Regions from separate parts of the Homo sapiens genome. Here all the other regions are linked to region 1. The links are contacts of gene promoters, found by promoter capture Hi-C in blood cells and fetal thymus (Javierre and others, 2016). All regions are on one chromosome and are shown on one strand. The core of a region is centred on a gene start or on the middle of the fragment in contact, and the rest is flanking DNA. Distances in the headings are between cores, read along the strand shown.

The links. Contacts are between HindIII fragments. The CHiCAGO score rates a contact against its expected background, and 5 or more counts as called.
Region 2: a contact is called between a fragment that was not itself captured here and the fragment with the promoter of ARK2N in region 1, in 17 of 17 cell types (total CD8 T cells, monocytes, naive CD4 T cells and 14 more). The highest score is 31.5, in total CD8 T cells.
Region 3: a contact is called between a fragment that was not itself captured here and the fragment with the promoter of ARK2N in region 1, in 1 of 17 cell types (neutrophils). The highest score is 5.2, in neutrophils.
Region 4: a fragment that was not itself captured here is called in contact with the fragment with the promoter of ARK2N in region 1 in 1 of 17 cell types (neutrophils); the score reaches 5.1 in neutrophils.
Region 5: a fragment that was not itself captured here is called in contact with the fragment with the promoter of ARK2N in region 1 in 1 of 17 cell types (naive CD8 T cells); the score reaches 5.4 in naive CD8 T cells.
Region 6: a fragment that was not itself captured here is called in contact with the fragment with the promoter of ARK2N in region 1 in 3 of 17 cell types (M2 macrophages, naive CD8 T cells and megakaryocytes); the score reaches 7.8 in M2 macrophages.
Region 7: a fragment that was not itself captured here is called in contact with the fragment with the promoter of ARK2N in region 1 in 1 of 17 cell types (endothelial precursors); the score reaches 5.4 in endothelial precursors.

The regions. Positions count from the first base shown.
Region 1 is chr18:46,172,364-46,175,818 of GRCh38, forward strand. It overlaps ARK2N (arkadia (RNF111) N-terminal like PKA signaling regulator 2N), which reads left to right and starts at 1,671. Exons shown (of 5, transcript NM_145055.5): 1 at 1,671-1,967. RefSeq lists enhancers at 1,245-1,294, 1,615-1,874, 1,905-1,954, 2,555-2,684. The HindIII fragment of the contact is 7,725 bases long and covers 855-3,455 here.
Region 2 is chr18:46,658,189-46,661,643 of GRCh38, forward strand. It overlaps LOC105372096 (a long non-coding RNA gene), which reads right to left. Exons shown (of 3, transcript XR_935430.4): 3 at 2,012-2,709. Among named protein-coding and RNA genes, the nearest start is that of LOXHD1, 2.7 kb to the left of the region's middle. RefSeq lists enhancers at 1-229, 40-89. The HindIII fragment of the contact is 1,423 bases long and covers 1,476-2,898 here.
Region 3 is chr18:46,600,885-46,604,525 of GRCh38, forward strand. LOXHD1 (lipoxygenase homology PLAT domains 1) reads right to left here. Exons shown (of 41, transcript NM_001384474.1): 7 at 3,222-3,345; 8 at 333-583. Among named protein-coding and RNA genes, the nearest start is that of LOXHD1, 55 kb to the right of the region's middle. The HindIII fragment of the contact is 3,691 bases long and covers 1-3,476 here.
Region 4 is chr18:46,574,334-46,577,512 of GRCh38, forward strand. The region is part of intron 14 of LOXHD1 (lipoxygenase homology PLAT domains 1); the gene reads right to left. Among named protein-coding and RNA genes, the nearest start is that of LOXHD1, 81 kb to the right of the region's middle. The HindIII fragment of the contact is 7,960 bases long and covers 1-3,179 here.
Region 5 is chr18:45,687,736-45,690,842 of GRCh38, forward strand. All of the region lies in intron 7 of LOC105372093 (a long non-coding RNA gene), which reads right to left. Among named protein-coding and RNA genes, the nearest start is that of SLC14A1, 35 kb to the right of the region's middle. The HindIII fragment of the contact is 1,778 bases long and covers 362-2,139 here.
Region 6 is chr18:46,627,189-46,630,819 of GRCh38, forward strand. All of the region lies in intron 4 of LOXHD1 (lipoxygenase homology PLAT domains 1), which reads right to left. Among named protein-coding and RNA genes, the nearest start is that of LOXHD1, 28 kb to the right of the region's middle. The HindIII fragment of the contact is 7,452 bases long and covers 1-3,631 here.
Region 7 is chr18:46,675,350-46,678,886 of GRCh38, forward strand. It overlaps ST8SIA5 (ST8 alpha-N-acetyl-neuraminide alpha-2,8-sialyltransferase 5), which reads right to left. Exons shown (of 7, transcript NM_013305.6): 7 at 1-3,537. Among named protein-coding and RNA genes, the nearest start is that of LOXHD1, 20 kb to the left of the region's middle. RefSeq lists enhancers at 611-1,458, 1,459-2,304. The HindIII fragment of the contact is 1,927 bases long and covers 299-2,225 here.

The sequences.
Region 1 (3,455 bases), core at 421-2,920:
AAACAAAAAACAAAGAAACAACAACCACAAAGCAAAAAACAAAAAACAAAAAACAGGAGAAGGACCCAAGATGGTATCTCAGTAGTCAGGGTCCTACTTCAGTATTTCTGCAGCATTGATTAGATCAGACTGTCAAGGAATCTTTTAAAAACTCAATGTATTAGTCCACATTCATTCATTTCCAGACTGAAAGTTGTGATCTTAGTGTGATTTTTCCTTTTCTTTTCTTTTTTTCCTGAAATAGGCTGGGCTCTTGTCACTACCCCATAACCTCTCAAATCCCTTGAGGACTCAGGTAGCAGAAAGTAAATAAATGAATGAACGAGTGAAATAACATACACGGATAAACTACTTAGCTAGCACACACTACGTTCTCTGTGATTCTCAGTGAGGCAGTTGGTGGCTGTGGTTAAGAAAGTAAGCTCTGCCTGTGTTGGAATCCAACACTGCCACTTACTTGGATGTGTCATCTTGGGCAGGTCACTCTGTCCCTCAGTTTCCACCTTTGCAATTTGGGACTAGTAACGCCATCCAACTCATAGGGTTGTTATGAGTTGTAATGAGGATTCAGTGGATTTAACCCATTTAAATGCAAGGTGCCTGGTATAATAAAATTATTTTCTTTTCTTAATTTATTCTTGTAGTTGGGGATGAAAAACTCGCACTCCTGTAGGCAGTCAGAAAAAATGAGTGAAGTGGGGGAACTAAGGGGCCTGGTCTGAAGGGGGAGACTGATATTTAGGGGAGTGCGGACCCAGTGGTGTGAGATTTTCAGAATCTCCTCTTGACGGGTCTCATCCGAGGTTCCAGCACAGCTCTGTAAAGGTAAAGACCGTTTACATTTTCCTCCTCAAAGCTTTATTATTATTATTTTTCTTCTCAAAACACTGCTTTGCTTTGGGGGAGCGCGGGTCCTTGGCCAGATCTTGAGTCTTGAGATATGTCTTCAGCATCTCCTGCTCCTCCTTGGGAAACGCTCCACCCGCCAGTGGGCCTGCGCCCTCCTCCCCTTCTTCGGGGTTCGGGTCCACCTCGTTTCCCCCACCCTCCCCAGGGCTGACTGCAAATCGGAGGGCGACTGCAGAGGCGGAATTCGGGGCAGAGCGGGGTCTCCCCAGCGGGCCACGTCCCACCAGCAGGTGGCGGTCGATCTGCAAGGCCTGCAAGGTGCCCGGACAGAAACTTGAGCAGATATTGGTGCCGCTGCCCGAGAAGAGCTCAGCCGAGTCTCCCCGAGCCCAGCTATCGGCATCCGCGAAAAAGCGGGGAGAGAAGGGCACGGGCTCTCCGCTGGAGCGACTCTGGGATTCAGACACCGCAAGCTGCTTTCGGAAGGGCTTCAGGAGGGGGTGAGTACTGAGCAGCGCACAGAAAAGGGAGCGCTGTCCTTTGCTGAAGGCATTGTCCTTGGCTTGCATTGAGTGGCTTTCCCACCCCCCGGGAAAGACATTTCGGGAAGGTGACGGTCTCAACAGAAGGAGGGAGCGCGGGAAAGAAGCCCGGGGAGCCGGCGCCTTCACGCCCCGCGGTCTGCAGCGGGAGGAGCGCGGGTTCCATCGCGCCAGATGGCGCTGTCTGGCTTTTCTCGGGCCTCGGGCGCCAGTCTCCAGAGGTCTCCGGCGCAGCTGCCTCTCTAGCCGGCCGACGCGGGCTCTGTGTTTCCGGGCGGAAGTGAGGCGCCCAGCGGAACGGCCTCTGGTGACATTTTCTTGGGGGCGGCGCGGACGACTGAAGGGACTTGGTGGTAGAGGCTGCGGAGGCGGCGAGGTTCACTTTGGTCCCGGCAGGGGCTCTGACCGCGACCCACTGCTCGCTGCCGGGGCTTGTTCCGAGGAGGAGAAGGCGGCGGTGGCCGTCGCGTCCTGAGTCACCGCAGCGGGGAAGAGTCCCGGCCGGGGGTTCGGTGCGTGCCCCGACGGGGCGCGCGCGAAGCGAGCGAGAAGGCACGGAGTCGCCGCGGAGCGCAGGTGAGGCGGGAAGGGGCGCAGGGCCGCGGCCTGGCTACTGGTCGAGTTGGGGGGCCCGGGTTGCGTCCCAGGGAGGGGTCGGGGCGAATCGGAGGGCTGCGGGCCGCGGTGAGGGCTCTGCGGCGTCCGGACGCTGGGGTCCTAGCGGGCCTGGCTGGTGGGCGCCGGGAACTCGCAGCCTGGATTGCCGGCTGACGCTGGGGCATCGCACCTCTCCGACCTCCTTGCTCGTCCGCCGTTGGTGACCCTAGCGTCCTCCCGGCCCGGCGGAGTTGGCTCCGGCACTCCAAGCCCCCAGACGCTGGGGCCGGGTTGAGGCGAGTCCTTTTCCGGGGGTGCTGAGGGGAGGCTGGAGGTGCCGCAGTCCCCGGGCTGCGGGGGGAAGCGACTTCACGGCCCTGGAGTTGTCTTCACGCAACTTTCCGGCTCCTAGGCCCGCGGGGGAAGCAGTGGCGGCAACTCCGCCAGCTCCGAGAGTAGGGGGTCTGGCGCCGACACCTGCCCCTGCAGCGGAGAGCTCCGGCGCCGCGGCCGCAGTGGCCTTGGTGGAGGGAGAAAAGGCTTTCTTATAGGCTTGGCGCCGCCTGCCTCTCGGCGCTTCCACTACCTTCGGTCGGCAGGCGCCTCCAGTCAATGCGAGAGATGTGTCAGTCTCCAAAATAGACCGCTTCTGGGGAGTTTGTCAACTTTATTTCAAAACCGGCGAGGATGTACACTGACGAACCCGTGTTAAAGACTATCGCCTTTACGCAAGCCATTCATTCTCACTTTAAAATTGTCCACCCCCCCGCCCCGACCCCCGTCCCCGGCAGCCCCCATCACAAAATTGATGCTCACAGGTTGAAGTAGAGAACATCGGTACGAGCCCTACCAGATCCTTGAGCAGTTTCTGTTTGGATGGGTTTTTCGTTTTTTGCCTGACCTTTTGCTTTCTGAATCCTCTTACCCAGTAGAATTAAAATCCTACTGATGATACTTCGTCAAGGTTGGACCTCTTAATTACAAAAACATCTGCCAATTTTGCTTAGGCTTTTATTGTGTAGTATTGGGTACATGCTAACAGAATCACTCCCTTTCTTCTCTTGGGATATTTTAAGGATGGAAGCTATTAACTTTCTAATGTAGTTTTGCTGATCTTGGCAATCTAGATTCCTCCAGTAATCAGAGCATTGCCTTTTGGTTTAACAAGCATTTTTAGAGGCCTACAATTGATAGTTACTGCCTGATGTCCTGAGGAGTCTCAGGACAAAAAAAAAAAAAACACATGGTTCAAGCAGTTATCCTGCCTCAGCCTCCCGAGTAGCTGGGATTACGGGCACGCGCCACCACGCCCAGCTAATTTTTGTATTTTTAGTAGAGACGGGGTTTTACCACGTTGGCCAAGCTGGTCTTGACCTCCTGACCTCGTGATCTGCCCGCCTTGGCTTCCCAAAGTGCTGGGATTACAGGCGTGAGCCGTGGCGCCTGGACTGAATCAGATTTCTTAAT
Region 2 (3,455 bases), core at 937-3,436, 490 kb after region 1:
GAATTTCAGGTGGAGAGGAAGAGAGGATTTGGAGCGGACGCCTGAGGAGCAGTCGGCACTCACAGGCCTCCCCGGCAGCCTGGGGCAGCTTTGGTCCTGCCCTGCTCTTTGGAGCCATCCAAATCTTCCACTAGGGGGAGGCATCTCTAACCCCGAACGTTCCTACCCAGGAAAGATCAACCTCCCCTCTTCCCCTATTCAGCTGAGGGGCCGCCCTTGAAGCAGCTCAAAGTCCTCTGAGGACCAGGAGTGAAGTTTAATGGTGGGTGGCGCGCGCCCCCTTCTGGCAATATGTGGTTTACACACCTGGATTCTTCAGGAAGAGACCTTCCTTAAGGATCTCTAGGAATCTACTAAGAAAACTCATTTTACACGAGTACCCATTCAGGGAAAAGATAATAAAACGTTTCTTAGAATTTTTTTTGAGACGGAGTCTCCCTCTGTCGCCCAGGCTGGAGTGCAGTGGTGTGATCTCGGCTCACTGCAACCTCCGCCTCCCGGGTTCAAGTGATTCTCCTGCCTCAGCCTCCCGAGTAGCTGGGATTACAGGCATACGCCACCATGCCCAGCTAATTTTTGTATTTTTAGTAGAGACAGGGTTTCACCATGTTAGTCAGGCTGGTCTCGAACTCCTGACCTCGAGATCTGCCCACCTCGGTCTCACAAAGTGCTGGGATTACAGGCGTGAGCCACCGCGCCCGGCTGTTTCTTAGAACTTTAAAAGCTGAAATCAAAATATTTTTAGAGAATCCCATGGTACTGGAACACACTGGCTAGGAGGTCAGGGAAATAATTCTATATTATTTCTGTATTATTTCAAGGTTCTCCAGACAGACAGAACCACTAGGATATACAGATCAGTAGATATATGACAGGAGGCTTACTAGGGGCGTTGACTCATGGGATTATGGATGCCGAGAAGTCCCACAACAGGCAGTCTGCACGTTGGAGACGTAGGAAGGCTGGTAGTGTGGTGGGTCCAAGTCTGAAGGCCTGGGAACCTGGGAAACCCGTGGTGTAATTCTCAGTCTCAGGCCCAAAACCTGAGAACCTGGTGGTGAGCGGGTGATGGAGCAAGTCCCAGAGTCCAAAGACTGGAGAACCTAGAGTTCTGATGCCCAAGGACAGGAGAAGAAGGGTGTCCCAGCTCCAGGAGAGAGATAAAACATTCACCTTTCCTTTGCCTCTTTGTTCTGTCGGGGCCCCCAGCCGATTGCATGGTGCCCACCCACATTGAGGGCACAACCAGTCATGTTGACACCAAAAATTAACCCTCACAAATACCAAGAGTTCATAGGGACATGAGCAGCCAGAACTCTCATACTGCTAGTTGGAGTGTAAAATGGTGCAGCCACTTTGGAAAATAAAGCAAAGCAAATACTTCCCATGCAACCCAGAAATTCCACTCCTTGGTATTTACCTAAGATAAATGAAAAAGGATATCCACACAAGATCTGTATGTAAATATTCATAGAAGCTTTATTCATAACCAAAAACTGGACACAACTCAGGCATTCATCACCTGGCCAGTGGGTAAACAAACTGAGGTACATCTGTACAGGCAATAATACTCAACAATAGAAAGGAAGGGAGTCGGGAAACATGCTACAACATGGATGCCTCTGGAAAGCACTACGCTAAGTGCAGAAAAGCGGTCAGAAAAAATACATGCTGTGTGATTACATTGATGTAACATTCTCTAAAAGGTAAAACTATAGGATCAGAAAACAGGCCTGATGGGTGCAGTGGCTCACACCTGTGATCTCAGCACTTTGGAAAGCCAAGATAGGAGGATCGCTTGAGCCCAGGAGTTTGGGACTAGCAGTAACATAGGGAGATCCAGTCTCTACAAAAAATTTAAAACCTGGTGGCACAGACCTGTAGTCCCAGCTACTCAAGAGGCTGAGGCTGGAGGATCACTCGAGCCTGGGAGGTGGAGATTGCAATAAGCTGTAGTAAGCTGTGATTGTGCCATTGCACTCCAGCCTGGGCAACAGAGCAAAACCCTGTCTGAGAAAAAAAAAAAAAAAGAAGCCTATGGTTGCCAAGGGCTGGACTAGTGGGAGGGAATGGTCTGCAAGGAAGCATGAAGAGGCATTGCTTGGTCTCAGGAGCAGGACATGGGCTCCACCCTGTCTCTCTGAAGTGGCCTTATCTGCTGCCTTTCCATCTCCATGTGATGGCCTGTCTGGGTCACGCCTATGGTGCAGGCCTGGCTATTGACTCAACTCCCACCCCAGCTCCTTGGTGTGAGGATCCTGCACATAGCTGGCTGTGAACGGGTGCTCAGGGCATGCTTTGCAGACCCACTTCTCATCCCAGTGCAAGGTCTAGATTTGTGGAGAGGTAGGAGGAGGCCTCAGTAGGCATAGCACAAGGCCCTGAACTGTGCAGTGGTGGTGAGGAGTCCTAATTGATAAAGCTAAGATGTAGAGTCCCATCGGTTTCTTGTGTACTGATAAAAGCACAAAGGACAGACAGGGTGATTACTTGGGTGGGACCCCAAGCCTATGATAATAGGGAGAGGTTGTTCATCCAATGACCATTTGCATGTGCACAGACATGTCCAAATGTGCAAAATGATATCGTTGTGCCCGTCTCCTCCTTAGAGTACATTCTCTTGCTGCTGGATGGCGTTGGTCATATTCCTCTCCAGCTCAAAAACATTTGCTTACGCCCCACGGCAATTGAATTTTCTCAGCCAGAGTTCTGGATTAAAAGCAACAGAAACCAACAATGGCTAGTTTAAGTAGAAAAATTATTTTTTTAAGCTGATGGAAGGTGGATCTCAGAATGTCCCAGAGATCTACACTCTGGAAATGATGCCTAGAATCATGCTGGTCCAGAGAGGACCCGACTTCCACCAATGCTGGGCCTGGATGTACAGCGTGCACCACAAGCTTCAGCACTGGCTGTTGCTGCTAGAGCCACAGCAGCTGCCTGTTTGTGCCGCCCTCACCAGAATGGACTCTGCTGCCTTCTGCCATTCAGTCTGGGGCCGGAGCATCTGATTGGCTGAGCCTAAGTCATGTGCCCACAGCCTTGCTGGAAAGGAGGCTGGGAAAGAGAGTATTTGGCCTTTCCAACTGCTATGCTGGGAACTGTGCTCTTCTCAAACTTTAGAAGGGGATTCAGATGCTGGATTACCAAGATAACAAATGTCTATGAAACTAATAGAATTCTAGCTCCTCAAGCTGATAGCAGAGACCCTCTATAATCTGACCAACCTTCTCCTTATGAAACCCACACTGTGGATAAACAGAAGAAACCCCTGTTTTCTAAACGGGCCTGGTGCTTTCCTTCTGCAGGCTTTAGTTCACGCTGACGTTAGAGCTGTTGTGTGCATTCCTGTGTCAGCCAGCTATTGCCACACGACAAGCAAGCATACAAATCTCAGTGGCATGGTGTTACCTCTCACATGTCTGGGGCTGGGTTGGGATGACATATATATGCTG
Region 3 (3,641 bases), core at 381-2,880, 430 kb after region 1:
CATATACTTTAAAATACTTATTGATTGAAAGATTTATAAGCTGAGGTGAAACACTACACCAGGAATCAGGATAATCATAACCACCAACTGAGCGCCTCTGGGTAACCTGTCCTGCTTGGCCCTTGGACGCTTGCACAGAACAGCCCCTGTTCCTGACCACTTTTGAGGCAAGATAGACGGACACGTAACCACCCAAAATGCCCAATGAAAGAGATTGCCCATGCACTCTGTAACTAGTTCAGAGAAGTAGCATTCAGGTTAAAGTTTGTACTTGCAAGTTAAAGAGGAGAGGGGTTGAATCAGGGAAGGCTGTCTCTGGGGGCATCCCTTACCTTCTCACAGAACCAGCCTCTGTTGACACCCACATTGCCATGCCCGACGGAGACCCGACTCAGGGGGCTAAGGAGGACAGCCAGCTCGATGTGGAAGATGTCCGTGCGGCCTCGGTCAAACACGCCGCCCTCCAGGAAGATTTTCCCACTGTTCTTATTCCCTCTGGCCCCATACATGACCAAGTAGATTTTGGATTTGGTACCAGCCCCCCGGACATCCCCAGTGAAGACGGTGACAATATACGTAATAGCTGGTGTGGAAACAACAGGAAAGAGAGTGTTCAATGTGAGCTGCATCATAATATCCCACCCCCTCCTCCCCTTCCTGGTTACAACACCCCCAAAGCCCTCCTCCTCCACACATCCTCTTTCCCCATCATGTCCTACTCCTCCAGATGCCACCTAATGTCCCTCTCGACCTCATTTCATCTTTTCCAGAGTTTGTGTGTCCAATGCATCTGAGTTTGAGAATAAACCGCACGTATTATTACAGGAAGCTGTCAGTGCTGATTAGAGGAAACTAACAAAGAGAAGGAGGAACTCGGGTTGGCTAAGAATAGTACTTATTATTAATGATAATTACCATGCGTACATTATTAATAGCTGCCAGATGAATTCTGTTATGTCTAATCTAATTATAATAGTCAACTCCATTAATGGAGATTTACGTTCAGGGCTATCTGATTCATTTCGCTTGCTCTTTTGCTGATAACTTAAAAACATAACTTTTAATAGAGGACATTAATGTCCTCCTTTGCTGCCTGATGTGGTAGGGTGAGGAGGATTGAGGGAGAGAGAGAACATTGTTGGTTGGGCCATTTGAGGTTCTGGTCTATCAGGAGGCAATATGAGGACATGGAATTCTGAGGAAGAACTAGCAAAGGGAGATTAAACTCTGGGACTGGGCGAAGTAAAAGAAAATACCAAAGACAAACATTTGGACAGGCAATTCTACTAAGGACTGGCCTGGCCTAGATTTTTTTATTTTATTTATTTTTTATTTTTTTGAGACAGAGTCTCACTCTATCACCCAGGCTGGAATCTAGTGGTGTGATCTCAGTTCACTGCAACCTCTACTTCCCAGGCTCAAGCGATTCTCGTGTCTCAGCCTCCTGAGTGGCTGGGATTACAGACATGTGCCACCACACCTGGTTAATTTTTGTATTTTTAGTAGAGACAGGTTTTCACCATGTTGGCCAGACTGGTCTCGAACCCCTGGCCTCAAGTGATCCACCCCCCTCAGACTCCCAAAGTGCTGAGATTACAGGCATGAGACACCATGCCTGGCCTACATTCTGTAATTCTGTCCTGGGGTCTAAGGCGGTTGTCACTTTAAGCCTTGTTAATTCCCCTACCCATCCCTCACCCTACCATACCCCACACTCTTATCCCATAACCTCAGAGAAATAAAAATCCCAAATTTCTTTGAGTGATAATACATGCAACTACATGGGTGTATTATTCATTCTTAAACTTACATTTTCTTTTGTTCAGCATTTATTGAGTGCTTACTAGATTCCAGGCCTTTGGGAGTAAATAAATAAAAAGGAATGGTCATTGCTCTAGAAAAAAAAAATAGGTCTCGAGCTTTATTTCTCTAAGATGCATGGACAAATGGTGTTCCCACATCAGATATACTTTCATCGTTTAGGATATAAGCAATGCCCAGCTGCTATCATTTCTGCTCTTCTTCTACCACTAGGAGACATATAATATTCACATATTCAGTATATATTAATTCTATTCGAGTATGTTTTTAAGTAAACTGCAAACTTTTCATCTGTAGATGACTTGTGCCACACCTCACAATGATCAGCCCGCAATGCTGAGGTTGAAAAGGACTGGAGCAGAGGAGCATTTAGGCTTCTGAACAGCAGCAATAAAGGTCTGCCAAGGAGCATGGAGCAAAAGAAGGGAGAAGTTACCCAGGCCAGAGAAGGTCAGGGAGGGCTCAGAGGAAGTGACTGGAAACAGGAATTCGAGAGGCAGAAAGAAGAGAAAAGACTTTTCAGGATGAGGAGAAGGCAGGTTCCGAGGATAGAGAGAGAGAAAGAGCAAGGCAAGCAGGGAGTTGAGGGGAGAGGGAAGGCATGGGAGCAAGATGGAGGGAAGAATGGAAGGTGTGAATGTGCAGTGGGAGAGAGGGTATGGGAAGACTCTGTGGGTAGGATGAATGGAGCCAAATTGGGGAGAAATGTGTACATTATACTACAGAACATGGATTTTCTCCCATGGTGAGTCATGGGAGTTCTGCTGCAGAGAACATTCTCAGATGTACACAATATCAACGTTGATTTTCTAGAACATGCATGACCATGACTGCCATGCTGGGAGTTGGAAGTTTTCTGTGGAATTCATACAGGTTAGGGCTTTAGGAAGCAGACCAAATCCTGAATCTATCACTTGCCAGCTGTGTGCCCTTGGACAAGGCTCTTCCATTGCCTCAGTTTCCTCATCTGTGTGATGGGAACAATAACAGTTCCTACTTTATAGGGTGGTTGTGAGGACTGAAGGACACCATGTAGGTCAGGTACCTACCTAGAAGGCCTGGCATATACTAAGCACTCAATATCAGGAAGAGTTCAGATCAATGTCCTGGGAAACATCCATGCTTGTCAGAAGTTCACATTCTGGCTTCATCCTATGGATACCTTCCTTTGCCCTGGGCAGTTAGTATCTGCTTAGCAGCATCCCCCAGGTCCTCTGGCAACAACAGAGCCCCAGGCTGCAACCCAGTGGGACAGAACAGTTTCAGGAGCAGGAGGAATGCTGTCTGCAGACCCAGCTGGCTCCTGTTTGATCACAGGCCTCCAGCCCCACAGATGCCAACAGCGACCCTTAGGCAGAAAGTGAAATACCCAAAAGAGCCTCCCCTTTCTTCAAATCTACCTGTGGTCTCAGCTCCGCCCACTAAGATATCCCTTTGGATTTTGCCATCGTCTTCGTCCAAGGCCAGCCAGCGGTTAAGGGGGAAGTCATATTTTCTTTTGTTCCCAATATCTTCAATGACTATCTGGGAAGGAGAAGAGGGGACAAGGATGTAGATAAGTGTTGTTGAGGGTGCACCTGGAGATCTAATCCAATCTTCCAATCACTTGAGTCTACTTTAAGAATGTACTGATATCTGTTTCGTGGCCCAAGGAAAGCTTATCACAAGGACACAACTGTGTCCAGGATACCTGGTAAAGCTCAGAATCATACAGGGATGACTGGCGATTACCTTCTGACTTGAATTACTGAGCCACCGCTCCCTCCACTGCTGCAGATCATTTTTTAAATTGAAGCAAAAAATTTGGCAGCATGAGCCTT
Region 4 (3,179 bases), core at 615-3,114, 400 kb after region 1:
GTGGTGATTTTATTACTCTTTCTCTGAGCTCACAGGAGTGTGTGTGTGTACACATACACACACACACACACACACACACACACACACCTGATCCTAGCAGAAATTCTGATAAATAGACCTGGTTTGTCCTCCTCTCCAACAGAGTTAAAATAACAGCTCAGGTGAAGAAAGAAGCAGTGTGCATGCTCAGGCTCCAGTTCCTGATTTTTCCAAGTCCCCTGGGTCCTGAGTTGGCAAATGCCATCACTACATGTGTCAGCAAGACATAAGAACCCATTTTCTAAAAAAAAAAAAAAAAAAATGCATGCACTGTTAAGTGTTTGGGGGCAGGGAGGACTCTGGAGTGTTTGAGGCCTCCGCTTCTCTTCCGCCCAGCCATCAGCATCATCAGCACCACTGTGTCTTTAATGGGCTCCTTTCAAAGTACAATACCCTCAACCTCACCATAAGACACATGCTGGCCAGGAAGGTGCAGAAGACCAGACAAGGGATTGGGTCAAAGTCACACAGCAGGTGGACGGCTAGACTTCTGGTTCCCAGCTCCCCCAGCACCATGCATGTGACAATGCAGTGTGCACACACCAACTTCTTCCTCTTCCCCTTTCCAGGCTCCTTCTCCTGGCCTGCCCCAGGGCTCGGCCCTCACTGTTTTCTTTATCCACACTCTCCCTAAAGGATCCCCTGCAGTTCCCTGGCTTTAAATTCTAGCTCTATGCTCTTATTCTCTGAATTCATTTCTCAAGGCCTAACTCTGCATTGAAAACCAAACACATCCCAACTAGACCTCCAGAGTCCAACCTCGTCCCCACCCCTCAGCTCTCCCTCCCCAGGATCCCCATTTCAGTAAAGGGCATGACCTTCAACCCACCTATCAAAGGCAAAAGCCTGGGGCTTTCAGTTCTGGCCCTTTCTCTGTCTCTTATGGGCAAGGCCCATGAACTGTCCCTCCAGGGTCCTCTCTGGTGTACAATAAGCCCCGTCTCACCACCTTCACTGCCACCACTAAGGGCCAAGCTGCTATGTGGTGAACTGAATTGTGTCCCCCCACCCCACCCCATTCATACATTTAAGTCCTAACCTCCGGTACCTCAGAATGTGACCTTATTTGGAAATAGGGTCATTGCAAATGTAACCAAATTAAAATAAGGTCATTAGGGTGACCCCTCATCTAATCTGACTGGTATCCTTATGAAAAGGGAAAATTTGGACACAGATATATATAGAGGAAGATGCTGTGAGGAGGCGCAGAGAGAAGGTGGCCAATCACAAGCCAGTGAACTCTGGAGGCTGCTGGGGTGAGGACATAGGCCCGGGTCAGATCCTTCCCTAGCGCCTTCTGAGGGGTGCAGCCTGGCTGACACCTTGATTTTGGACTTCTGGCCTCCGAAACTGTGAGACATTATGTTTCTGTCATTTAAGCCACCCAGTCTGTGCACTTTGTTACAGCCCTGGAACATGAACACATGCCGTCATCAACTCCCCAAAATCTCCTACTGCTCTCCCCTCCTCCCTGGGCCCTGTCCTATCCCCAGAGGCCAGACAGGCCTTCCTCGCATGCAAGAGTCTCCCTCGCCCTGCCGGACAGTGGCCTCCATCTACCTGCCTGTCTTGCTGGACTCCAGAACACTCCAGTCCTTTCCCCTGGTGCTCTCCTCTTCATTCCACAGGAGGCCAGCCTCAACATCCCTCTGCAGGCAGGCCTTTCCCATTTCTAGCCCCGGCTCCAGCCCCTGCACCGTTGTGTGTTTCCTCCACGCCACTCTTCACAGTGTGTCATTCTGGCTTTATTCACTTGCTTTTAGTCTAGTTTCCCTCTAGACTATAAACTCCATGAGGACAGGGAGTAAGTATATAGTAGGTATAAATATATTTTGAGTAGATAGGAATAAAACAATGCAAGCTCTTCCATCTGGCATCCAGCCAGTCAGCCTCTGATCCAGGATGGGGGTGAAAACGCCAGTAATGACTTGAAGCGAGGCTGTACTCTTCCCCCACACCCCGCTTCCCCCGTGGCTTAGGAGAATGAGGGTTCACACTCCACCCTCTCCCACCCCAGCCTTCTCACTCCTTCCCCACATGCCAGGCGCCCCTTGCCAACCTCTGGATGAGCCACCCCTCAGCCCCTTGCTCATGCCTCATGCCATTTCTTCAGCCTAGGTGGCCCACCCTCCCTTTTCCTCTCCCTCTGTCCACTCTCTGACCTCCCTTCCAGGCCCAGGTGCACTTCCATCTCTTCCTGGAAGCCTGCCTGGCCTGCCCTCTGTTAGTGCCACTCACTTGGAGCTGCCTGCATTATTACTTACCTTTTCAATGTAATTCCTTGTAATACAAACAGTGCTATATGTAGAAGACTGTAGAGCTCTTTGTCATTGACAAAATCTGTTTCACAATCATTGACCTATGGAGCCCTCCCAGTGGCCCTCCGTGGCTGGGAAACTACTGGGCCTGGGTTGGTGGGGTGCTAAGTAATTCAGCTGCAGCAGATGTGTGCCTGTGTGTGTGCGCCTGTAGGCACAGGCATGCATGTGAGTACATCTGCGTTCATGGTAAGAGGAAGAGCAACACACTCATTACTGGGCAGCTGTGCAACTCACCCTCATCCACTCAAAGGAGGGCTGTCCTCAGTGTAGCTACCCTTGAGGAGCCCTGGACCAGCCCTAATAAAGTGGACACATAGCAACTCATCTCTACATACAGAACTCAGCCTTGGAACTGAGATTTGCAGAGCCGGGTCAGTCCAAGGCCCCAAGTCAATCATACAGTGTGAATCCTCCAGACATTGCCACATAAAATGTGGAGAGCCACCATGATGACATGAAAAACACTGGTATTGCTCATTCTAAAATCTCTCTATCAGGGACTTCTTTAAGTCAATGGGAGCCCAAATGCTTAAGCAAAAAGAGAAAGGAAACTTTATCTCATGAATAAATTGCAGAAAGGAAAACAAGGTAAGATACCTTGAAAAGAAGTTAACAGGGAAGAGGTATGGTCAGAAAGTTATTTAAATTAAAAAAAAACTTTTGATTTAAAAGTTTAATTCAATCTGCAACTAACTCTCTGAACTAACTTTCACCTAAATTCAGGAATTGCCAAATTTTATCATGAACAAGCACCCACATTTTGTTGCTTAAATAGAGGAAACTAGCAGCACACCGGAACACACCACAGTGGTGTTCATC
Region 5 (3,107 bases), core at 1-2,500, 490 kb before region 1:
GGGGCCCAGGCAACAGCCCAGACTAGCTCTATCAGAACCTTAGGGGCGGCCCAGGCCGGGGTGGTTGCCAAAGCTCCCCAGGGGGCCCCATCAGTAGAAGGTGTGGGGGCTGCTCGGTGCTGTGCTGTGCTGCTCTGTGCAGGGCTGCAGGGAGAAGATTCTCTAGAGAGCTCTCAAGTGGGAGGAGCCCCAGGCAGCATGATTTTGTCAAATGGAGATTGTCTCTGTCCCTGAGGTCAGAGGAGGGCTGTAACCATACAGTTCTTAACCTCTGGATTTGGACAAATGTAAGCTGTGTTCCTGGCCCCTCTAAAGACCTGTGAATCCTATTCTGCTCATCTGTGTGTAGTTCTTGTTTTTAAGCTTCCAGAGAGACACTGATTCCTAGCTAGTTTCTAACCCTAGCATACAGCAAGATGGAAAGCTCAGGACACAAGATTAAAGTGACAGCCTGGAGGGCAGGACAGGGAGTCTGGGCTGTGGCTGGAGCACCCATCACCATTCCTGGGCCACAAGCCGCCTTCAGGGACTGGCTTCCTGTTCTCCCAGGCCCCGCTGTGGCTCCTTGGCCTTAGCCCCAGGTTCTCAACATGAACAGACTGTGAACTCCTTGTGAACAGCGATGAGTTTTGTACATTCCCCTAACTGGGGCCTCTCTCCCGCAGTGAATGAGTAAGTGACAGACACAGTTATACTAAAGTTATAAGTTATGTCCAGCAAAAGAGAGGCATTGCCTTCTCTGTTGTCATCTGTCCTCCCATCAGTGTCTTGCAAGTCTTAATAGCTTTTGAACAAATGAATCATATTTACATTTTGTACTGGGCCCCATGAATTACGTAGCTGGTCCTGTGCTGAGCTCTTGGTGGCAACTGGAGCTTGCTCTCCCATGGCTGCAGCATCAAAGATCCCCCTGGGCTAGTTCTCTGCTTTCAAACTCCTTCCTCACCCATGACAGCATGAGACAGCAACACAACACCCCAATATACACAGAGCCTCACTTGTGGGGTACTCACTTGACAAGCACCCCAGGGAGCAAAGGAAGTGCAGAGAGAGGTGGCACCTTCTATCCTGAAGACCCAGCACACCCAGGCTCCATGGTGCAGGGACTGGAACAAACCAGGAAGGCACCCCACAACCAAAATATTTGTAGATTTTCCAGCTGGAGCAAAGGAAAGACCCAGACAGATCCCTACTCATAATCAGCTCATGAAACGCCCTACTGGAGAAAGGCAGAAAGAGTAGCTGGCTTTTTCCCCATCCCTGCATACTCCCCTGGGTGCTCTTTGAATCAATGTTTAGCCGGATTTCACCCAATCATGAGCGTGTGAGTGGGGAGCACCCCCATGACTTGGCTTCCTGCCCAACACATCACACCACAACCTGTGAATAACTCATCTTCCCCAACACATTATAACCTCTGAGGGGCCAGATTATGTATTTTCATGGCCCCCATTCCAGGCCTGGCACGTGGATACATATTTACTGACAGATGGACCCCTACTTCAGCATCCCTGTAAGCCTGGAATTAATTCCAGGAGGTGGGTACTAAGCAAGATAATGTTTAACCAAAATGCAGATTCTAGCACCTCCCCTGAACCCTAAGATATTGGGATTCAGTAAGTGATGGGGTATCTGCATTTTTACCTGCATCGCAAATGACTTAAGAAGGCCAATTCTCCTGGCTATCTGAAGAACTGAAGGAGGTGGGTAGACAGAGGGGGTCTCAGCACAGGAATTTGAGTAGAATTCACGTAGAAGCCCAGGACATGATTGCATGAGTGGCCATGGGTCAGTGTGCAGCTTGCAAATCCAGTCACTGTAAGGCCTTATCCTAGAAAGGCCCTGACGGGGACTGGGGTTGCGGGGGTGGGGATTGAGGCAGGTGGCTACCATCTGTCAAGAGCAGCAGCAGACCTGCAGCTGGCTCCATGGCTTCTGTGGCCCATGCCCACCCTCCCTCCTTACCATCACAGCAGTCGCCCAAATGGCTCAGAGAGGAGCTCATGGGAACCCCACTTACTGTTGACACTGGGGGAAAAGAATGGAAATATGATTTGGCATAACTTGAGGGACGTATAAATGGTTTGTGCCTTTCACACCCCAAAAACTTCAATTTACCTCCCTCATGAATGTCTTAGAAGCTTCTGCATTCTTTAAGAAAACTCTAGTTTTTACATAAATTTAATATTGACCATATAATTCAACATTCAATTTTATGTTATCTGGTATCACCTGCCACCTGGGTGGAGGGTCTTATTTGCTCAGCAAGATGGGAAACTCTAAAGTCAAAGACCTCATCTTATAATTACTTGAACACAACATACTTTGGAGACCAAACATATTACTGAGCACAGGATATCCGTGCTGCTTGATTCACTTACTATTTGAACTCCTGGTTCTGAGACTGTTATCCGAGGAGAATAAAAGGGTGCTGGATGGGCTTCCATGGAGAGATGGAAACTGTCTGAGTGTTAAGGGCTCAGGCTAGGGAGGAGACAAAACTCTTCTTCTGAAAGTTTCATAGCTTTAGCTCTTATATTTAGGTCTTTGATCCACTTTGAGTTATTTTTTGTATATGGTAGTAGAGTCCCCAATCTTCTGCAAGTGGATATTCAGTTGCCCCAGCACTATTTATTGAAAAGACTATTCTTTTTTGCATATGGGATTGTTTTTCAGAATCCAGAAAAATCTTTAGTTCACATTCCTCTTGCTTTAAGGTAGTATTTCCATAACTCATCAGTCATGGATCTTAAATACATATCCAAAAGAAAAAATTTTAAATAAGAAAAAGTCACATGATCCAATGAGATCCAGGTACATTAAGCCAAATAAAGTTTAACATCTTTCATTAGCATTGGCTTCTCAAAGACTTTAATGCCAGTGTGCTTTTAATGAATCACTTATCCTTCTTTTATCAGAGAAGGGCGTGTGTGTGTGTGTGTGTGTGTGTGTGTGTGTCCACATATTAACATCTCTACGAGTACACTTCCAAACACCTCGAGTTTTGGAATCATTCTTTTGCAAGAGTAGACTTACTGACTTGAATGCTATTGGATTGTTTTAATTTCATCTTGGAGAGTTCGGCTAACAGGATGGTTGGGGTGTGT
Region 6 (3,631 bases), core at 901-3,400, 460 kb after region 1:
GGCTTTGTCACACAAATGCCTTGAGCCAGTCTGAGTGGCTGTGAGGCTGGAGGGAAGATTGAGAACCAGATGGCCAGTGAGAGAGAATAGACACAAGGGCCACCAGCAGAGACCCAGCCCCAGGCAGGTGGGAACACTTTCTCTGACTCTCACTGGGCTCACACTGGCCAACACCTGTGGCTAAAGGGAGGGTTCCAGCAGGAAGCCATTGGTGCTGCAATGGAATGGACACTGACAGCTGGATCAGGGCCAAGACAGTGTCTGTGTCATCAGTTCAGATTTTCGTGTGTACAAAATGCAACATGGAGAAAGTGCTATTTCCACAAACAGAAAAAAAAAGGCTATTTTAAACACCTATTTAAAGATAAAAATAACCAAGTTTGAAGCAAATACACAATTCCATGCATTCTCCAAACATTCTGGCTGCTGGGTTGAAAGAGAATGTGGCTGGTGGTGGTTCTGGGAGGGTGGAGGCCACAGTGAAAATATGAGGTGGAGGATCCATTCCCAGGTGTGTGAGTGACACTGAGCCATCAGAGCTCATTTCCCCAAGTGCCCTCATTTCATTTCAAATCCTAGAAAACTCCTCACCCATGAAGACTCAGTTTGAGCATCACCTCCTCTATAAAGGCCTCCTGATTCCTTCTTCCTCTATGCTCCCATTGGCCTGGGCGCCATACCCCACTTAGAATATTCTATCCCTTTGCACTGTGATTATCTACTGGCTTGACTCTCTCCCGTCTAGACTCTAAGCTCCTAGAGAGAAGGGCCTGTATGTAATCACCCTGAGCGCAGGCTCTGGTGCATAGAAGGCTCCCCGCAAAATGCCCATTGAATCACTGAATGAATGTGCTTAACAGGAGGAATGATGGAGGAGCATGAGCTGGCACCAAAAGCCCAAGACTGCAGCTCTGCCCTACAGTTATGCTGTGTGACCAAGAGCAAGGGGCTTAATTTCCCTGGGCTTCCATTTTCTCCTCTCTGAAATGGAGGAAGAGTAGATAAAGTCCCTTTTGGTCCTTAAATTCTCTGATGTGCCACAACAGGGCCTCACTTAGAGTGGTTCTCTTCTTCCCCCTCTTTCCGGAGATGATTTTCTGCAGTGCTAGGTGGGAGCAGATGGGGTGGGCGGGGAGCTGCTGTGAGCTTCAGTGGAGGAAAGTGCTGCAGGGCTGGCCCAGCCCTCCCTACCCTGGAGTCCTTGCCCCCACCTGGGAATTCTTCCATGGAGTTCAAAGGAACAATGACTCCCAAGCAGCACCCACAGCAAATAGGCTCAGAGAGCCCTGGAGAGTGCTCCGTGAAGGAAAATGACAAAGCGTCGGGAAAAGAGGCTTTCCCTGCTGGCTTTAACAGCAGTCAAGGTGATGAGCCTATTCCCAGTTGTCTGCTTGAACCTGCCTGGATTCCAGAGGGGAACCTGGCACTGAGTAGCTCTGGAGTACTTTCTGAGAGGTTAGAATCTTAAGCCTGTGCATCTCAGAATCAGAAAAAGCCTGGATGTGGGGGAAGAAGAAAGGGAAACATCAGGAGCTTAACCACAAGGACAAGCACCACGCTATTGTGTCATTTACTGAGCATTGACTCTGTGCCTCGGCACTAAGTCCTGTATGCTCATTTCCCCAGCTAATCTTATCAGGTAGAAATTAATGTTCTCCCCACTTTACAAATGAGAAAATAGAGGCACAGAGCTTAAGGCATCTGCTCATGCTAGCATAAGTGGCAGAATGGCAGAGCTAGCTTTTGACCATGGAGAAGGGGAGTCCAGAGACCGAGTCCATGGTGGGGGACTATCTTGAAGATGGGAAGTATGGGGAGATGAAATAGGGCAGAAAGATCCACAGTAGAAAGGAAGCCACCAAAGGCCAATCTCCTTTTGCCCCCATGGAGGAGGGCTGGCCCTGACCTCTCCGTCTCCCTTTGGTTATGAAAGTGGACACTCTAGTAATCCTGAAAAGACTCCAAGAGACCCCCTAGTCCAGGCACTCTACAGAGGGAGAAACTGAGGATAGGAGGGGAACTGAGATCTGCCCCAGGTCTCATTGCTATTTGGTGGCAAAGCCAGAACCAGAACTCAGGATGTATAGTCCCATGTGCTTTCTGACCCAGAGAGTTATTTTAAGATTAATGATTTAATTACTCTACGATAATATCCTATAGAATCTGGGAATAAGTCAGTGCTTCTGGCTTCTTGACAGAGCCTTTGCGATGGGTGTTTTATGCTCCAATCATGCAGGGTACTTTCATTTTGCATTTGCACTATGCAGTCCTCTGGCAGGTCCATAATCCTTTGCAGGGCGGTACAATTTGCACATGCCCCTAATACGTTAATCACCATCCCTTTCTTATCCCATTCTCCCCTCAAATGCACCCTGGGCACTACGCCCAACATGGTCATGTCAAGATCGGGTACACATCTGGAGCTGTGTGATAATCATTGTGTGGCACTGCATGGCCTGGAATAAAACTATAACCCAGTTACCTGATGAAACAGCCAGGAATGGAAACAGTGATTATGCTGAAAACAAACACAATTCCATTTCTACCCATTCCCAAGTGCTGTGCAGCTTTCAGCCCCCAGCTCCAGCTTTCTCACTGGGCATTAAAAAAAAAAAAAAAGAAAAAAAGAAAGAAAGAAAAAAAGGCAATTCATTTGCTCCAGAATGGGAGTCCAGATGTAAACGTCATCCACCCCTCCCACCACCTGCATGCGCCCAGCCCACCTGCCCAAGTTGTTGTTTCTTCTTATGGCTTCCCTTTCCTGTAATCATCAGCCTCTCTTCTCTTTGAAGCATACAACAAAACTGGCTGCAACCATATTTGTTATTAATCTACCCAAGAAGATTACATGCCCCCTAGATGGTGGCTTGTCCTTCCCAAAACCTAAAGAACAAGAGCAGGTGTGGAATCAGGACCCACCTCAAGACTGGGCCCTCTGAATGCAAGGGGCCTCTCTGCTTCTGCCAGTGCCTGAGTCTGAAACATTTCTGAGCTGTTGTGCTGGGTTCTGACAGCCCTGGTGTGTGAGCAGCCCCCAGGTCAGCTGCAACGCAGCTCTTGGCTTCAGAGGCCTGTCTCATGGCCAAGCTGGTGGAGCCTTCCCCAGGCAGTATGGTGTGGGCTCAATATTAATCTAAGCCACATGATCATCTCAGTGCTTTTCGAAGTAGGAGGGTTTGTGGGTAGGCACTGGGCTGTGGGCAATTACTTGGCCAGAAAGCAGGAAATGACATCATATTGGTCGTGAGAAGGCCAGGCAGGATCTGCCTTAAACAGGTCTTGCTCATGCTTCCCTACCAGCCCAAGCTCCTTCAAGACCCAATATGAGGTCATCCCAAATCTACCTGGAGAGCACACGCCATCTTATCAGGCCTTGCCTAACTCAGATGTCTCGCCCAACCTCATTCTTCAATACTGCCCCATAGGGAAGGCAGGGATGTGCCCAGGGCTTCCCTGAAGTCAAAGAGGACTGAGTAGCCCTGCATTCTCAGCCTGGGCAACTCTGCAGTGGGCTTATGAATTGCACCTGGGCACTGTGTCCTGTGAATGTCTCACCAAAAGGGACAACATCAAAGTGGGTATGGGGGGGGGTGTGAAATCAGTGGGTGGGAGACACCTGGAGGCAAGCAAG
Region 7 (3,537 bases), core at 12-2,511, 500 kb after region 1:
GTCCAGAGCCTCCAGGGGCTTCTGGAGCTCCCTCAATTTCACACAGCTACGAAGTAGTAGGAGGAGACTCTGAGTTCAGATTGTTCTTTTAACTATACCAGTTGAGGACATGTTGAGGTCTGAGATGCTGTGCAGACACAGACATGCAGGAGGCCACAGTGAGCATGCTTCCAATGCTCCTAGGGAGGACTGGCCTGCAGGTAGAGGGGTTAAGATGCCAGGGCAGAAGATACTTAAGGCTTTGAATAGATGAGATTTCTGCAGGAATGCTCCTAGGAAGAGAAGAGAACCCTGAGGAAGCTTCACGGAAGATGAATCCACAAAGGAACCTGAGAAGGAGCATTCAGAGAGACAGGAGGAAAGTCAGGGAAGAATAGTTAGAAAACAGAAGAGGAGAGGACTTTAGAAAGACCAGAGAGACTGTGCATAGTGGCTCACACCTGTAATCCCAGCACTTTGGGAGGCCAAGGCAGGAGGATTGCTTGAGCTCAGGAGTTCGAGACTAGCCTCGTCAACATAGCAAAACCCCGTTTCTACAAAAAAAAAAAAATTTTCAAATTAGCTGGGAGCAATGGCACGTGCCTGTGGTCCTAGCTACTTGGGAAGCTGAGGTGGGAGGATCACTTGAACCCAGGTGTCGAGGCTGCAGTGAGCCATATTTATATCACCACCCTCTAGCCTGGGTGACAGAGGGAGACTCTGTCTCAAACAAACAAACAAAAAAGACCAGAGAGGCCAACCTTGTCAAATGTTACACGGATGTCAAGGATGATATCTGAGAAGTATCTGCTGCTTTGCTCATTACACTTTTTATGCTGCCAACCTTCAGAATTCGGAATTGACTTTGGTCATCCCCTCCTCCACCTCTCCCAGATAACTGTCCCTGAGACTGGATTTGATAGTGTTCAGCACAACCAGCTCCCACGTACGTTTGTGGGATTCGTCATTTAACGTCTGTATACACACACACCAGACCACAAACTCCCGGAGGGCAGGGACGACGTTTTGTTCATCACTAGCTCCCCGGCACCTGGCACCATGCCTGGCACAACATGAGCACTCAATAAATATAATTTATTCACCAATTCACTCACTAAATTGGCCAGCACTCTACTCTGCCTCAGTTGTTTCTAAGCACTGCTCTGCTTCCTCCCTGCTCTCAGCAAAGTCAAGGGCGATGAGCACATGCTGTCTCTGGGCACCAGGTGATTAGTGGGCAGAGCTGCCGCAGCAGCATTGCTGAAATGGTCTCAGACGCTGCCTCTGACCTTGAGCCACCTTTCTTTGTGCTTGGCTAAGCACTGAGTCATTTACTTGTTTTTGCTGCCTTTCAAGCCTGGAGCAGTGGGTTTAGCACAAAGGAAGACATGATGGTTGTTTTGTTTACGGGAATCGATTTCCCTTGAATAATAATTCAATGGGTAGTCTGCACTGCATGGTGGCGTGGTGACAGGGCTGTGGAGGAACATGGCAGAAGGCTTCCAGAGTCAACACCAGGTCTCTCTGAGCCTTTGAAAAAATGTTTTTCTTATAAACACTGGCTGCAGCAGAAAAACTATATCCTGAAAGTCAGGAGACTGGTGAGTCCCAGTTGAGCCACAAGCTGGCCATGTAGCCCTGGGCAAGTCATTCGTGTTGTCACTTAACATGTGCTATCTCTGGGCATCTTTCCTCACCTTAAAAATGTGACGATGGCCTCAGTTCCCCTCCAGTGCCACTGTGGGTAAGTCGCTACTGCTGTAGGCGGCAGGGTTAGGGAGAGGCACCTATAAGCACAGGCTGCTTCCCGGACGATGACAGCCTCCTAGAGCATTTGTCCCTGGAGGAGGGCCCCGTACTATCCTGCAGGGGCATCTTGGTCAGGATCCCTCATGTTCTGGTGTCACTGTCTGGGAAGCTAAGACAGAGGTTTGGAGCACAGACTTTGGGGCTCTACAGATCTGGGTGCAGTTCCCTCCATTGGGTGCCGTTCCCTCCATTGGGTGCCTGACCAAGGGCAAGTCCTGGAATTGCTTTAAGCCTCTGTCTCCTCATCTGTACAATGGGAGCCTCCTTACCCAAAGGGGTCTCATGATGATTACAGGAGATAATATAGGGAAAGTGCTTAACGTAGCTTGATAAATGCTAGCTAGTATAATGAGAAATATTAATTATGGTTTAGATCCATTCATCATGAATGTCCCCCCAAAATAAGGACATTGTACAGACGCTGAAGATTTTTACAAAGCTTCTAGTTGTAGAGATGAGGAAACTGAGACATTGAGGGAGAGGAAGGACTGGCCCTAAGACCCACAGGCAGGAATATGGCCAGCAGCCAGGTGTCCCAACTCCTCTGTGGGCTGGATCCCGATGCTCCAATCCTCAGCTCCTACGAGGGCCCTGGCTGGGGCAGATTCCAACCTGCAACACCCTCAGCTGTGGGAATCCTGATGTCTGTGTCACCAGGGAGCCTCCCCCAAACACTGCCCATCTGGAACATAACTAGTACCCAGAGGGCTTCCAGTAGAGGGCTCTGTCCACAGCAGGCACTCAGTAGAGCCCCAGGCATGACTTGACCCAGTCACATCTTTGCTCTGGGCCTGTTTCCTAAAGTGGAACAAAATGGTCTTTAAGAACCTTCTAGTTTTTATATTCCATGGTTTCAAGAACTGGGTTCAATTAACCATGCAGTGGCTAGAAATCTCAGGTAACTGGAATCTTTCCCAGAAATTCCCTCCCTGGGAGAAATAGGCAGAGCTCAAGCAAGTAATAACCATCCACTGTCCTTTGCAGTTCTTCCTGGTTTAGCAGGTGTTTGGGATCATTTCATCCCCTTGGCTACTCCCCTACATTCCTGACCAGCAGACTGAGACTCAGAGCCACCTGAGGTTTTCCCAACCAGGACCAGAGCTCAGAATGCAGGTGAGAGTCAGCACTGAGAACAGTGTTGTGCACAGGGCACAGGTTCCACAACAACCCCCCCACAGGAAGCCCAAGCCAAGACACAAAAGTTTGGCCAAGAACGGAGCCCTGGATCAGGAGCCTGGAGGCCTGGGATAAAGCCTGCACTCTCCACGTCCCTGACTGGCTCAGCCGGGGGGCCTGTCAAATGAGGTGATTGGATAGCAGATCCCACTCCCTGATAGACTCTTACAGCTCCTAACCCTCCCAGAGCACCCAGCACGTGGGACTGGGTCTATAATCTCTGGGCCCTGCACCCCCAGAAGACACAGATAATGCCTTTGTTTATCCTTATGTCTTCCTAAGTCCAACCACAGACCAAAGCAGAATAGGCTTTCCAGAAATGTTTAAGGGGAGGAAGAAAAGAGGAAGGGAGGGAAGGAGAAAGGGGAGGAGGCAGGGAGAAAGGAAGGAGGGAGGGAGACAGGTTGCCAGGCAGGTAGGCTGAAGTCCTCCTCCCAGCACTAACATCCTATGATTCCACAAAGCTAAGTTCTAAGGCAGTTAGTTCACCAACAGTGTCTCTTAGACACCATCCCATTTATGGTGGAAACACCACAGGGAGAAGCAAAGGGAATTAATTTCAGATGTGAAATG